Linked DNA regions of Homo sapiens: regions 1, 2, 3 and 4 are each linked to region 5. The links are contacts of gene promoters, found by promoter capture Hi-C in blood cells and fetal thymus (Javierre and others, 2016). All regions are on one chromosome and are shown on one strand. Each heading gives the region's core, a stretch centred on a gene start or on the middle of the fragment in contact. The rest is flanking DNA. Distances are from core to core; before and after follow the strand shown. Region 1 overlaps CACNG2 (calcium voltage-gated channel auxiliary subunit gamma 2). Region 2 overlaps CACNG2 (calcium voltage-gated channel auxiliary subunit gamma 2). Region 3 has its middle 7.7 kb from the start of ELFN2. Region 4 overlaps CACNG2-DT (CACNG2 divergent transcript). Region 5 holds the start of CIMIP4 (ciliary microtubule inner protein 4).

The links. Contacts are between HindIII fragments. The CHiCAGO score rates a contact against its expected background, and 5 or more counts as called.
Region 1: a contact is called between a fragment that was not itself captured here and the fragment with the promoter of CIMIP4 in region 5, in 3 of 17 cell types (endothelial precursors, M1 macrophages and M2 macrophages). The highest score is 6.4, in endothelial precursors.
Region 2: a fragment that was not itself captured here is called in contact with the fragment with the promoter of CIMIP4 in region 5 in 1 of 17 cell types (endothelial precursors); the score reaches 5.2 in endothelial precursors.
Region 3: a contact is called between a fragment that was not itself captured here and the fragment with the promoter of CIMIP4 in region 5, in 2 of 17 cell types (total CD8 T cells and activated CD4 T cells). The highest score is 5.8, in total CD8 T cells.
Region 4: a contact is called between a fragment that was not itself captured here and the fragment with the promoter of CIMIP4 in region 5, in 2 of 17 cell types (endothelial precursors and M0 macrophages). The highest score is 6.4, in endothelial precursors.

Annotation. Positions count from the first base shown.
Region 1 is chr22:36,643,659-36,646,372 of GRCh38, forward strand. All of the region lies in intron 1 of CACNG2 (calcium voltage-gated channel auxiliary subunit gamma 2), which reads right to left. Among named protein-coding and RNA genes, the nearest start is that of CACNG2, 59 kb to the right of the region's middle. The HindIII fragment of the contact is 1,942 bases long and covers 394-2,335 here.
Region 2 is chr22:36,678,468-36,681,242 of GRCh38, forward strand. The region is part of intron 1 of CACNG2 (calcium voltage-gated channel auxiliary subunit gamma 2); the gene reads right to left. Among named protein-coding and RNA genes, the nearest start is that of CACNG2, 24 kb to the right of the region's middle. The HindIII fragment of the contact is 4,632 bases long and covers 1-2,775 here.
Region 3 is chr22:37,433,843-37,436,542 of GRCh38, forward strand. No RefSeq gene overlaps it. Among named protein-coding and RNA genes, the nearest start is that of ELFN2, 7.7 kb to the left of the region's middle. The HindIII fragment of the contact is 6,818 bases long and covers 1-2,700 here.
Region 4 is chr22:36,719,090-36,721,822 of GRCh38, forward strand. The region is part of intron 1 of CACNG2-DT (CACNG2 divergent transcript); the gene reads left to right. Among named protein-coding and RNA genes, the nearest start is that of CACNG2-DT, 17 kb to the left of the region's middle. The HindIII fragment of the contact is 1,383 bases long and covers 755-2,137 here.
Region 5 is chr22:37,006,429-37,009,128 of GRCh38, forward strand. It overlaps CIMIP4 (ciliary microtubule inner protein 4), which reads right to left and starts at 1,423. Exons shown (of 6, transcript NM_001163857.2): 1 at 1,301-1,423. The HindIII fragment of the contact is 2,868 bases long and covers 1-2,519 here.

The sequences.
Region 1 (2,714 bases), core at 115-2,614, 360 kb before region 5:
CACAGTGTTGCTAATGCTACTCTGTGCAACCGAAGCTCCCTGACAGCCAAAGCAGAGAGGGAACGTATGTCAGTTACATGAATCTTATTGTTCAAGAAGGGGCATCACCACAGTCCCTATTTCTTCTCATGATAAAATGTGTTTTCTAACCATATTACCTTATTTAAGCCTTAGGACAATCTCATGACTCAGTTACCATTATTAGCTCCATTTTACAGATGAAAAAACTGGGGCTTAATAAAGCTAAGCACCTTGCCCAAGGTTACATCCGGAAAATGGCAGAGTTGAGAGAAATTCTCAGGCAGTCTAAACTCAGAGCTCTGTTCTAACCATGAACTTCACTGCCTCTGTTATGGGCAAACTGAAAAAGTACATCAATGGTCCCTCGGTGAAAGCTTAATTGCCCTGGAAGATAGTCTCCTGGAAGGGATTTGGGGAAAAAAAAGAAAGACACACCCATATGCAACGGGAGGACTAAATATTAAGTATAAAGCTCATCTGCTTTTAGGCCCCAGACATCCCAATAGCCCAAGAATGGGAAAACCAGAGCTGTGAGGTCCCAGGCTCCAGCTGAACTGGGCTAAAACTGGCCTGAAAATCCTACACCTAATTCTGTCATCATAAAAGCATGATCTTTGTAAGAGAAAGGAGGAGCAACAATCCCCATTAGCTTGACGTCTTCCTGTTCTCAGCCTCACCCCTTTATAGCAGAACCTCACTAGGTCTTTGAGAGCTGCTCTATTGTCTGGGCCAGTAGTTGGAAGATGCTCTCCAAGGTGCTGAAGCAAGTGGGGCTTATTTTTCTTTTCAGATTGGCTTCTTGCCACTGACTCACCACTCCTGGTAAATCACATGAGTGTTCTAGCAGATTGCGAAGACAAACTGCATGATCAAGCTGAGAAAATGTGGCAATTTGTAAGCGTTCAAGTTTATTAACAGGTAATGCTAATACTGAGAGGTAGCATGGCTGAATGACTTTGGCAAATTTCTTAAACTTTCTATGCCTCAGTTTTCTCACCTGTAAAATGGAAATAATAATAATAAAAAATAATACTGACCCCAAAACAAGTTGCTGTGAGGATCAAATGAGTTACTAAGTGCTTAAAACAGCGCCTGGTGAATAAGCCCTATATAAGTGGTTTTTTTTGTTTGTTTTTGTTTTTGTTTTTTTAAAGTTGGTTATATTCCTTAAGGCAAAATTTCTTGGTAATGGGGTCATCTCTAGGATGACGAACCTGGCAGAGTTACTTCATGCCATAGGATAAGTGCAGTCCCATTGGATGCTGTGATGACAGATGACATAGAAAACAGTATGTTACTTTCATCCTTCTATCAAATTCACATAACAAGACCAAAGCCTGCACCACATCCAATTCTCTGTTGCATCTCAGAATTCTAAGTCCTTCATTAACGTTCTAAAATGTTGAATTCTGTGTGCTATGCAGTTTTTAAACAACATCTGTTCATCAACCCCAGAGGTGACAGCGAGTCAGTGTTGGGGGTTGTTCAAAGCATACCCACACCTCTTGGCTCCCTCACAGGAATGTTAGGGGGTCTAATTAATTACTGTTTGCAAAGCAACCGAGAAATTCTCCAGGGAAAGTTGCTGTAGAAATGCAAGTTTCTTCCAGCACTTTGGGAGGCTGAGACGGGCGGATCACGAGATCAGGAGATCGAGACCATCCTGACTAACACAGTGAAACCCCATCTCTACTAAAAATACAAAAAATTAGCCAGGCGTTGTGGCGTGTGCCTGTAGTCCCAGCTACTTGGGAGGCTGAGGCAGGAGAATGGCATGAACCCCAGAGGCGGAGCTTGCAGTGAGCTGAGATCGCGCCACTGCACTCCAGCCTGGGCGACAGAGCAAGACTCTGTCTCAAAAAAAAAAAAAAAAAAAAAAAAAAAAAAGAAATGCTAGTTTCTGTATTATTATTACATGTGCTTGTAATTGTTTTCAAAGTTTACTTATTGGGCAGGGAGAGGGAGAATATATTTTCTTCCTTGACGGCAATGGATAATGCTCTGCAAATTGGCATTTATGGATACTAAATCACTTTGTGAAACATTATATCTCTAGAGCTACAGGAATCTCATAATGGGAAATGCACATAAAGGGTTTCTTCTTTCACTTTTGCACCCTCCCCTTCATTCAACTTCCATTTCCATAAACAAATGTGAAAAGAAACATTATAAGAAGCAGCCATGTGTATCCAAACTTTAAAAGTCAAATGCATATTTTAATATAAAATTACCTGCATAGAGTCAGACTTTTTTGGATAGAACATCCTTCGCGTTAATTTATGCTAAAGATTGAACAACATTAGGTTGAAATCAAAGCTTGAAACAGACACAAAGGAAGTTGGGGATAGACATAATCTGGAACAATTAAAATTATGTGCTGAGCTCACCCACCCCAAAAGCTATAGAAAATATTGGCTTGACTTGATTTTGTAAAGATTTCTGTGAAATATTTAAGAGCAAGCCTATATCTGGGAAATATCTTTCCATGGTTATATATGTATTTCTTTTTTCCCATTTTATGGAGAAATAACTATTTTATGGGTATTGTTGAGCATTAGCCGAGGAAACTTACCCCCTGTCCTTTAATGTTTCTCTTTCCTAACTCAAGTTTGAGATAGTGACATTACGCCTGGCATACTAAAAAAAAAGTTCACTGGAATTAAAATTTAGCAGTACACAGAGGCAGAACACAA
Region 2 (2,775 bases), core at 105-2,604, 330 kb before region 5:
CTACACACATTCACATTTGACCCAGTTCCCCCTTCTAACCAAAGACTCGACCCAATTCTCAAGCCTTCTCCCCCACAGTTCTGACCCAATTCTCTCATCATTTCCACAAAGACGTGACCCAATTTGCCTCCATCCTTCCCCCAGCACATGCGATAACATTCCCCCTACAGCTCCCACACTACGGATATGACCTCATTTCCACCCCCATGCCAGTCACTCACACCTGTTCCCCCTCCATTTCCCCACGATGGCCAGGAGCCACCATGGTTACCTTCTCTTCTTGCACCTAGGACACCACCCCCTTCTCTAAAAACACCAAGGACACAGCTTCCCTTCGGCAGCAGCCTCTTCTTTCCCTGGGTACATTCACAGGGATTTGACCTAATTTTCCCACTTCTCAAACCCTACTTGGCTCATCCATCTCATCGCACACCGTCTTCCCAAGGACACGTGGTTTGTGTCATTGCTGGAATGTCAAGCCCTCTGACACAGCCAATGCTCCCAATCAATGCTCGCAGCACAGCACTGAGTAGGTAGTTACTGCAGCCCCTGGCATGGCCAGAGGAAACGTCACAGCTGGCTGTGCCTTAACTGATACTCAGTTATTAGTTTATTCTTTAAAGAAATCATTTTGTTGGCAGCTTATCTGCCAGCATTTTGGATTTTCTCCCTTCCTTCCTTCCTTCCTTCCTTCCTTCCTTCCTTCCTTCCTTCCTTCCTTCCTTCCTTCCTTTCTTTCTTTCTTTCTTTCTTTCTTTCTTTCCTTCTTTCTTTCTTTCTTTTCTTTAAAAAAGGACATGTGATGAGTTCCGGTGAAGTGTGGTAGGGCTGTCAGTCAGGGGTTAAAGTCCTTTATAAGAAAACATGGGCAGGAGCAAATGTACCGGCCACTGAATGCTGCCCTTTCTATGTCAGTAGGGCTCCTGGAGAGGTTATAGGAGATGGCTCTCTGAGGGCTCTTCATTCATGGCTGCTACCTAATTAAAAAATAAATACGTTTCAATGATCACAAATGATTTTTATTTATCCACTAGGAACCAGATTACAATCAGTTATGCATATGAAATCTACTAAACAGTTTTCAGGTGAAAGGGTATTAAGTTCTATCAACGTTGGGGACTGATTTGGGTGAATAGACTTGGAGGCGATTGGTTGAGGGAAGACTGGAGAGAGCTTTTGTAGCCTTGCTCTCGTTTTTGTAACTGTTCCTCCCTAGGTCACTGCCCACTTACGTGTGATGGAGAAAGAGCCCACTCCAGCTCTCCCTGTTCTCTTAACTTGGCTGAGTTTTGGTGACACTCACGGTGGAACTTGGTTAGAAATAGTTGTTGTTTTGAAAAATTCAGAATTTTTCTTCTAAAATGAAGTAATACACGTTAAAGGTTTTGGACACCGTGAAGAGTTGTTCCAAATGGTAGTTATTCGGATGATAACAATCCCTGTTATCATCACAAGCACCATCTCTGCTGCCACCACCTTCATCATCACCACCTGCATCACAATCATTATCATCACCATCACCACCACCTTCATGATCACCACCACCTGCACCATGGCTATAATTACTACCACCACCATCAGCATCACTACCACCACCATCATTATCACCACCATCACCGCCACCTTCAGGATCACTGCCACCTGCATCATGGCTATAATTACCACCACCATCACCACCATCACTACCACCACCATCACCGTCACCACCATTACCACCACCATCACTACCACCACCATCACTGTCACCACCACTACCACCACCATCATCACCACCACCATCACCATCATCAACACCACCACCATCACCACCATCACCACCACCTTCATGATCACTGCCACCTGCATCATGGCTATAATTACCACCGCCATCACCATCATCACTACCACCATCATCACCATCATCACCATTACCACCACCATCACTGCCACCATCACTACCACCATCATCACCATCATCACCACCACCACCATCACCACCATCACCATCACCACTTTCATCACCACCATCTTTATCACAGTCATTATTACCACCATCAATCATCACCACCTTCATGATCACTGCCACCTGCATCATGGTTACAATTACTACCACCACCATCAGCACCACCTTCATGATCACCACCACCTGCATCATGGCTATAATTACTACCACCATCACCACCACTAACACCACCATCATTATCACCACCATCACCACCATCTTCATGATCACTGCCACCACCACCACCATCACCACTACCACCATCACCATCACCACTACCATCACCATCACCACCACCACTACCACCACTTTCATCACCACCATCTTTATCACAACCGTTATTGTCACCATCAATCACCACCACCTTCATGATTACTGCCACCTGCATCATGGTTACAATTACTACCACCACCATCACCATCACTATCACCACCACCACCATCACCATCATCACCACCACCAGCAGCACATCTGAAAAACTCTGATTCTGGCCTTTATGTCTCAGATTCTTTTCTTTTCCTGTCAACTTCTTTATTTATACATTTATCCATTAAAAAGAATGAGAATGAAAAACAGAAAAATTATTCTTTTTTTATTATTCTAAGAATTTGTATCTTTTTCACGAGTAAGTTAGAAGCTAAAGATCTATCTATCATCTATCTGTTCATCTCTCTGCCTATTAATCGATGGATCATTTTCTTTTGCTTGTTGGTTGTATTTCCATGGCTCTTCCCTTTTAGTTTGTCTTCATCCCTCCACCTTCTTTCTGTTGGTTTAGTGCTTAGGGCCTAAAA
Region 3 (2,700 bases), core at 54-2,553, 430 kb after region 5:
CTGCCTGACTTATTCTGTCCCCTAGCCAGAGGCCACTGCACCCCGCACTATTGTGTGGCTGCCATTTGGATCTGAGCACCCTTGCAGGGAGCTCTGGAATTCTGCGGGAGCCACAGCAGGGGGAGCGGAGTTAGCCTCAGCTGGCTCAGCGGCTACGAGGTCAGCCCGGCAGCCTGCATTATTAAACCATCTATCTGGCTCCCTCCAGGGAGATGCTGGGGGTGGGGGCAGGCTGCTGCCTGGGTCCGGAACTGGGGCAGCCGGCAGCTCCTGGGAGCTGGAGGTCACCGGCCTCATGGCTGGGCTTGTCACTGCTGACCTGCTGCCGGCTCCGAGGTTCCAGATGCTGTAGGGGCTAGAAAGGAGCTGACTGGCTGGTTTCTTCATGTTCTTTTTTCTGCTCAAAAACTTCTGGTCTCTGACTCCACAGGGTAAAGCGCCAGCTCCTTACGCTGGCATCTGGAGTTTTCTGCAACCTGGCCACACTCTTCCTAAAATCGTAATAATAGCTCAAAAAGGAGGTGTTTACTCTCCTTCAGGCTTGGTGCCATGTGCTCTACATGAATTAAAGTCTCTGTGAATAATGACAACAATCTACGAGGTACTTCTGTTATTCTCATTTGACTGCAGAGGCTCAGAGATGCTAAGCAATTTGACCAGGATCACACAGTGAAGAAGAGGCGATGATTCCCCCAGGCTTTCCTGCTGATGCAGCCAGGCTGTGGCCACGAGACGCTGGGGATATTTTAGGCTCAAAGCCCCATTCTTAGCCCTACAATCGCTTGTCACTTCCCAGAGTCATGCCTTTCCTGAGGTTCTCTCACTGTAGAATCTGGGGGACTGACGGTCCCTGGGGAGGGGGATGCATTGTATATATTCCCAAGACTCCATGGCAAAGGGAGGGTTTGTGTGGCTGCTACCAAGTTACTCAGGCTCAAATCCCAGATGCTACCTGAATGCCACCTGGATGCCACCTGGGCTCCTGTCAGCTCTGCCTGCTAAACCTAGCCCCTCCTCTCTCCCTCACTGCCACAGAAGCAAAGGCAGGTGGGTCCCATTCACCTTTGCGTGCTCAGGGTCTGGCATGCAGATGGCACTCCAAAAATATTTGCTAAGGAAAATGATCAAGTGTATGCCTGCGTGAACAAACGAAGGAAGAAAAGAAGAGGGAGTGGCCAGCATGAGGAGAGAAAACGGATGGGTGAACAGGAAGGCTGGTGAATTCGGCTCTGCCCTAGGGACCAGGGGTGGGCACTGGGCAAAGGAAATCTTCACACAAGAAGAGATGCTCCAGGAACCTGCCTGACAGGTGGGAGGAGCACGCAGGCAGGGCGCCTGGAAGGGGCAAGGCGTGGAGGAAGATTTGAGAGGGGGCAGTAAGAGCAGGCCACAGAAGAGGCCTTGGTCTCACTCAGATCCTTCCGGTAGTTCTGACTGGTTTCTCCAAAATCTCCCCATTTTCTCTCATCTCCTGCTTTCTGTCTGCCCTCATGCTTGGAGGCCATGGAACTCCAGCTCACATGGCCCATCACAACTCATTCTCAGAGCAAGCACTGGCACAGCCTTGGCATCTGACACCTAGCTGTGCCTTAGTTCTGCCAGGTCTGGCCAGGGCGGTGATAGGGACTTCCCCTCTCTTCCGCCATAGACCCAGCTCTGGTCACAGCCAAGACCCCAGCTCCCCACACCCAGAGGAGAAGGCTGGAGCAGGGCCTGGAGATGGGAAGGGATTTGTGAGCCAGGCGGGCTCCTTTGAAGTGGGACCTCTCCTTCCTACCAGGGGCTGAGTGGGACCAGGAGGGGAGCCTGTGTCAGGGCCACAGCCATGCAGGCTGGAGTCCAGGGCAGTCCCCAGACTCCTTGGAGAGGATAACAAGACCCCTCACCACGTAGGAGCGGCTCCCTTGTGCCAGGTTGTAGATATGCCGCCATGTCCTCATGACAACCTGAGGGGATGTCATCAGTCCCCAGGACTCATTGGTTGTAAGTGACAGAAACCCAACTTAAACCAGTTTGAACTGGATTACACTCAAAGGTGATATCTTGACTCCCATAACAGGGCAGGCTGCCTTGAGGAAGACTGGGAAGGAGGAGGAGGCCATCTTGAATGCCATCAACATCCTCTCTTTGTGCTGTAGTTCTCTCAGGCCCACTGTCCCTGCTGCAGGAGAACCAGGAGCCTCCACAGGCCCAGACTTACGGCCTGACAGATTCATGGCCAGAGTGGGAAGAGCTTCTCTTCCCATTCCAAGCTGAACAATTCTAGGAAAGGACTCTGATTGGCCCAGCGTGGGTCACATGCTTATCCCTTGGACCAATTGCTGTGGCCAGGGTGACCCAGCCTGGGTCAGGTACCCCTGCCCTTGTAACCAGGGAGAGGACCTGTCAGCAGAGGAACTGGGAGGGACCCTGGCCAGACAACAGCAACAGCAGCAGCGCAGGGACTTTTTAAAAATACATGTTTTATTTTGGAATAATTCTGGATTTATGGAAACAATGCAAAGATAGCACAGAGAGTTCCCGGATACCCTTCACCCAGCTTCCCCTGAAGCCAGCATCTTATATAACCGTGGTACCTTTGTCAAAATTAAGAAATTAGCATTGGTGCATTACCATTAACTAAACTCCAGCCTTCATCCAGATTTACCTGTTTTTCCATGGATTCTTTTTCTGTTCCAAGATCCTATCTGGGACATGACA
Region 4 (2,733 bases), core at 196-2,695, 290 kb before region 5:
TTTTTTTTGCATAACTTAATTCAGTTTTTCTGCTCTTGCTACATTTTCTTCAGCTCCTACACATTTTTTGGGAGGTGGTTATAATGTTATTATCTTATTATTAGTCACTAACCGGGAATAATTCACTTTTCCAATTGATCTATGCTGCCTACAAAATGCCATATCAACTGGAAGCACAGTCTGGTTAGTGAGTTTTGAGAGCCAGTTCAGACAGACCACTTTGTGTGACAGGCTTGGCTCAGGCAATGATGACCTCTATGAGCTGAATTTACCTGTGGTCAAACGGTCCCAGTGTTGGAAGAGCATCCACAAGCCAGATTCTCAAGGGTGCGGCAGGGGTACCTGATTGTGTCCAACTCATGTTGTGTGCTGAATATTTTACACAGTTCCTGCTAGTTTGCATTTGTCCTAAATAAATTTCTGACAATGTCAAGTTCAATGGATTCTCTAGATAAAACATCCCTGAGCACCATGTTTCCCTTGAAAGGATGCCCAGCTGCATATGCACATTTGTGGTGTAGCCTTCACACAAACACACTTATTTGGGTAAAGTAGAAGTGTGTATGTGGGAACTAATACATCCTTCTGCCATCGTGACTCAAGCCTGAGGAGTGTTAATTGTGGATGAGTGGGGTTTTGGGGCATAAGCAATTGCCTGGTTCACTTTATGGTAGAATCACCCCGAAGCTGTGTATTGGGAGGAGAGAATGAGGACGGAACATTAGGTGAACTAAAAGGAGAGGCTATAAACTGAAGCTTATTCTTTGGGTAAGAGCAAGCCAAATTTATTCATGAATGGGTGTTCCTGGCCTTTGCTTTCCTGCTGTCATCTAATCAGGTTTTCTTGATTCTTGACTAGGTTTTTGGAAGAACTTAGGGATATAGAATCAAAAAGAAAGGAGGAGAAAGAAATGAACAAGAAGCCCTCTATTTAGGGTTCAGGAGAAGTTTTTCAGGGTGTTAGAGGAAAGGGTGGGAGAACCATAGGGGTGACGAGGGAGACAAGAGGGCATAGAAATTTTAAGAGATATCGCTACAGATATCTCCAATCCGTAGAGTAACCTGGTGGGCTTTGCATGTGGCTTTGACCAGTCATTGGCCCTTCTGGGTCTCCTCATCTCCCCATCTCTCAGAACTTGGACCCCAGGAAGCCAAAGGGCCTTTCTAGTGCTCACATTCAGATGTCAAATGGCATCCTCAAACTATGCTTGGTCCAGGACTCTGGAGAGATCTGGATTCCTATTGACTCAGAAAATTACTCAGTATTATTTTATCTGGTGTAAGCCACATCCCTCTTCTGTGCCTTGATTACTCTATTGGCTCATCAAGGACACTGAAATAAACACAGGGGACTCACAACGTGATATTCATGAAGTTGGGTTTCTTTTTTTCTTTTTTTGAGACAGAATCTTGCTTTGTCTCCCAGACTGGAGTGCAGTGGCGAGGTCATGGCTCACTGCAGCCTCAACCTTCCAGTGTCAAGTGGATCCTCCCTTCTCAACCTACCAACTAGCTGGAACTACAGGCACATGCCACCACGCTCGGCTCATTTTTAATTTTTTTTTTTTTTTTTTTTTTGTAGAGACAGAGTTTTGCCATGTTGCCCAGGCTGGTCTCAAACTCCTGGGCTCAGGCTATCCTCCCACCTCCGCCTCTTGAACTGCTGGGATTATAGGCATGAGCCACCCCGCTCAAACCAAAGTTCTTTTAATAAAGGAATTCCGCAGTGCAGGGTAGACAGCTTCCTTCTATCTCTCATATGTAAACTACCTCCTTTTCTTGCTCTCCTTTTCCCCTGACCCATTGTCTCCTTCTCTCCTCCTCAGGAGGCTGGATGGGGACACATACCATGAGTGACATCTTACCAGAGGGTGGCCATGAACTTCATCATGTTCCACAACTGTTAATGACCACTGGCGCTGGCCCTGCTGCTCTCTGAACTCCTCTCTGTGGAACTGTGCCCCTTCTCTGGGAAGAGTCCTTGAAGCTCTACTGAGAATGAAACCTCTTCTTTCAGCTCATGTCAATCTTGGTATTTTCCCAACATGTTCAGGTTCTGGCTTGGAGGTGCTATCTGTTGTTGACTTTGGACATAAACGAAGCTGTTATTTGCCTCTTTTGGTTTGTTATGTTAACAAGCTTTTGGGATTTGTTCTTTAAGATTCCCCACCCCTATTGTATGATGATAGGTGCTGGAACCAGACTGGTTGGGTTCAAATTTTTGCTGTCGCTAACTTGCTTTGTGAACACATGTCAGTTACTGAATCTCCCCGTGCCTCAGTTTTTTAAATATGTAAACAGGGAGTTCTCGTAGTACCCGTGGGTCTTAGTCAGTTATTGCTATAGAACAAACCACCCCCAGACTTAGTAACATCAACAACAACTATTGTTTTTTTCATTCATGCATCTGGAGAGAGGCTGGGGAGGAGGAGGCTTGGGTTTGGCTTATCTAGGTGGGGCTTGCTAGGCTTGGCTCTGAGCTGTGGATTAAACACAGGTCTTCTCCATTTGTCTTTCATCTTCTTTGGGCCACCGGCTACATAAGGCATGTTCTGATGGCAAAGAGGAGAATTAAAGGGGAAGTCCTATTGGCCAAAGCTGGTCAATGGGAGAGAGAAGCGTACGCCCCTAGGGAGAGACAGAGGGGAGTGAATTTTTGTTGAACAATTATCCTAACTATCACACTGTTGTGATAGTTAAATGATTTAATAACTTTAACAGGCTAATAACAGT
Region 5 (2,700 bases), core at 173-2,672:
GAATAGGAATGTCACTAGTTCTTATCCTATGCCTATCACATCACTGTATGTTAGGTGTGTTCAGGGCAAATTACTTAGTTTCACAGATCTATGATGGGGAAGAATTGAATCTGAGAAGCTGTACTTAAGGAACGACACTGGAGGAGCCTCAGCCACACCTGGAGCTGATTTATATGACCAGATTCTAGCTTTTAAACTGATGCTTTAATAGGATGAGAATTTTAAAGATCTTAGGAGGGGATGACTATATTTTGCATGTGGAAGGGATGTACATTATTGGGGGCCAGAGGGCAGAGAGTGGCAGGCAGTTGACATGGCTCCCAATGATCCCTGTTTCTTGGTATAATTCTCTCCCCTTTGGTGTGGACTGGACATAGTGATGAATGGAATGTGGCAAAAATGAGGGATGTTGCATCCATGATGAACTTATAAGAGACTACAACTTCTGTCTTTTTCACACACTCTCTGCAGCTCTCCTCAGCTCATCTTCTCTGACAGAAGCCAGTTTCCCTGTTGTGAGATGCCCTATGGAGAGGTCCACAGGGCAAGGAACTCAGAGTGGCCTCTTGCCAACAGCTCCAGAGTAGCTGGATCCTGCCATGTGAATGGGTTCCTTCTCTGGTCGAGCTTTGAGATGAGACTAGAGACCCAAGCAACACCTTGATTGCAGCCTGTGAGAGACCCTGGGACAGAAAAATCACCAACACTCCACCGGTATTCCCAACTCACAGAAACTGTGAGATAGTAAATGTTGTCTTAAGCCCACTAAGTTTTGGGGTGATTTGTTGTGCAGCAAGAGATAACTAACACAAGTCCATGTCAAGCATTCTCACATCTGGTAAATTAGTCTGGTCTTCACAAATACCCAGTAAGGTGTTCGGAGACACTACTAATTTATCTTCTTTCACAGATGGAGAAAATGAGGCTCCGAAAAGACACAGGACTTCACCAGGTGGGGCTAAAATTAAATTGCACATCTTCAAGCTAGGTGAAGTTCAAGTTAGCTCCAAGTTTTCTTTCTCCTCCTATCCCCAGCCACCAACCTGACGTGCCCACGGCAGCTCTGTACGTCCCAGTGCACTGCCAGTCCACAGCAGTCTGGACGGGCTACAATGGAAGTGTGGACTCACTTCCAGTTTCTGACCCAGAGAGAGAGATCCCAAGAGACTTTGGTCAAAGAGGGCGGGAAGGTAAGTCCAGTCTAGGCAGTCTTCACTCACAAGCAACTCTGAATGGGGAGAAGGAAGATGAAACCCCATGTCCTGGAAGAACCCTGGCCCTTCATAAGTCTCTGCCTCACCTCTCCAATCTCTTTCATAACAGCAGGAAACACGTGAACCACACTGATGTGTGCTGAAGCCCAGAAGTGCAGATCCCCACTGCAGAACTACTGGTGAAGACCAATGGATGGTTGCTGGGAAGTGGCCCTCCCCAAGATGTTCATTGGAGTTGCCATGGTGATCACTATACACAGGGCTCTGTTACCTCAGAGGGCTGATAGGCCCACCCGTAGGGAAAAGAGGCCAGGAGAAAGCCAGGATTGAGGCCAGGAAAAGGCAGGAGGGGCTTCAATTATTGTTCACTCTCTCATCCACTCTAGAATGTCAGTTGAGCCCCCACTACATGCCAGGTGTGCCAGGCACAGGGGGCTCAGATGCTACCAAGTGCAAAAGATGTTCTTGGGAGCTCAAAGCACTAAGTAGGGAGAAGAACTAGCTCTGTGTAGGAAAAAGGAGGAAGGACTTATGAAAGAGCCATTTGAGTTGGATCTTGAAGGATGCCTAGGAACTTAACAGTTTTGAAGGGATGAGAATATTAAAGGCATGGATGTGTATAACAGCATAAATGTAGGTCGAGGTCAATGGGGAAGGAGAAAGATGCATCTGGAGCTGTCTGATTTGGACACCCAGGGATCAGGGACCTGGGAGTAAAACTAAAGGAAGGGTCCTCTCTCCTATTCCTAAACAACAAGGGCTACAGAAGGAGATCAACAAAATTAAGTGACTTCTTTTCTGCAGAGAAGAAGGAGGCAGAAGTCATTGGTGCCAGCACTGGCCCATTCCTGTCTGGCTGTTGCTCAGCCTGGACAAAGAGTGGGTATAGTGAACGCCTCCTGCAAGCCCAGCCTTTCAGGATTTCCCCAGGAAACAGAGAGTGCTGTGGTTAAACTTGGAGTCCCCAGAATCTGGGCCTGTCACTTATTAGATAAGAGACTGGCCAAGTCCTTTAGCTGAACTTCCTTCACATGTGAAACAGATATCACCCAACACTAAGGATAAGGGTGATGGGCGAATAAAACAATTTTTTGCAAAATGTAGCACATTGCCTTGCACAGAGAGAGACATCACAAAACTCTAAGCTACTTCCGCAAGCAACCCATCAGCAAGTCCTTCGAAGTACACTAGATTTGGATGCCTTCGTCCACCTCCACAACTCCCCCTACTCCCTGGTCCAAGCCACCCTCATCTCTTGCCTAAGTATTATCTATTGCTGCACGACAATCTTGCCATAAACTTCGAAGCTTAACATACAACTGTTATCTCACAGTTTCTTTGGGTCGGGTGTCTACTCATGGCTTAGCTGAGTTCTCTGCATTGGGGTCTTAGCAGGCTACAATCCAAGTATTGGCCAGGGCTGCAGTCTCATCTGAGGTTCCACTAGGGAAGAATATGCTTCCAAGCTCATGTGGCTGTGGGAGGA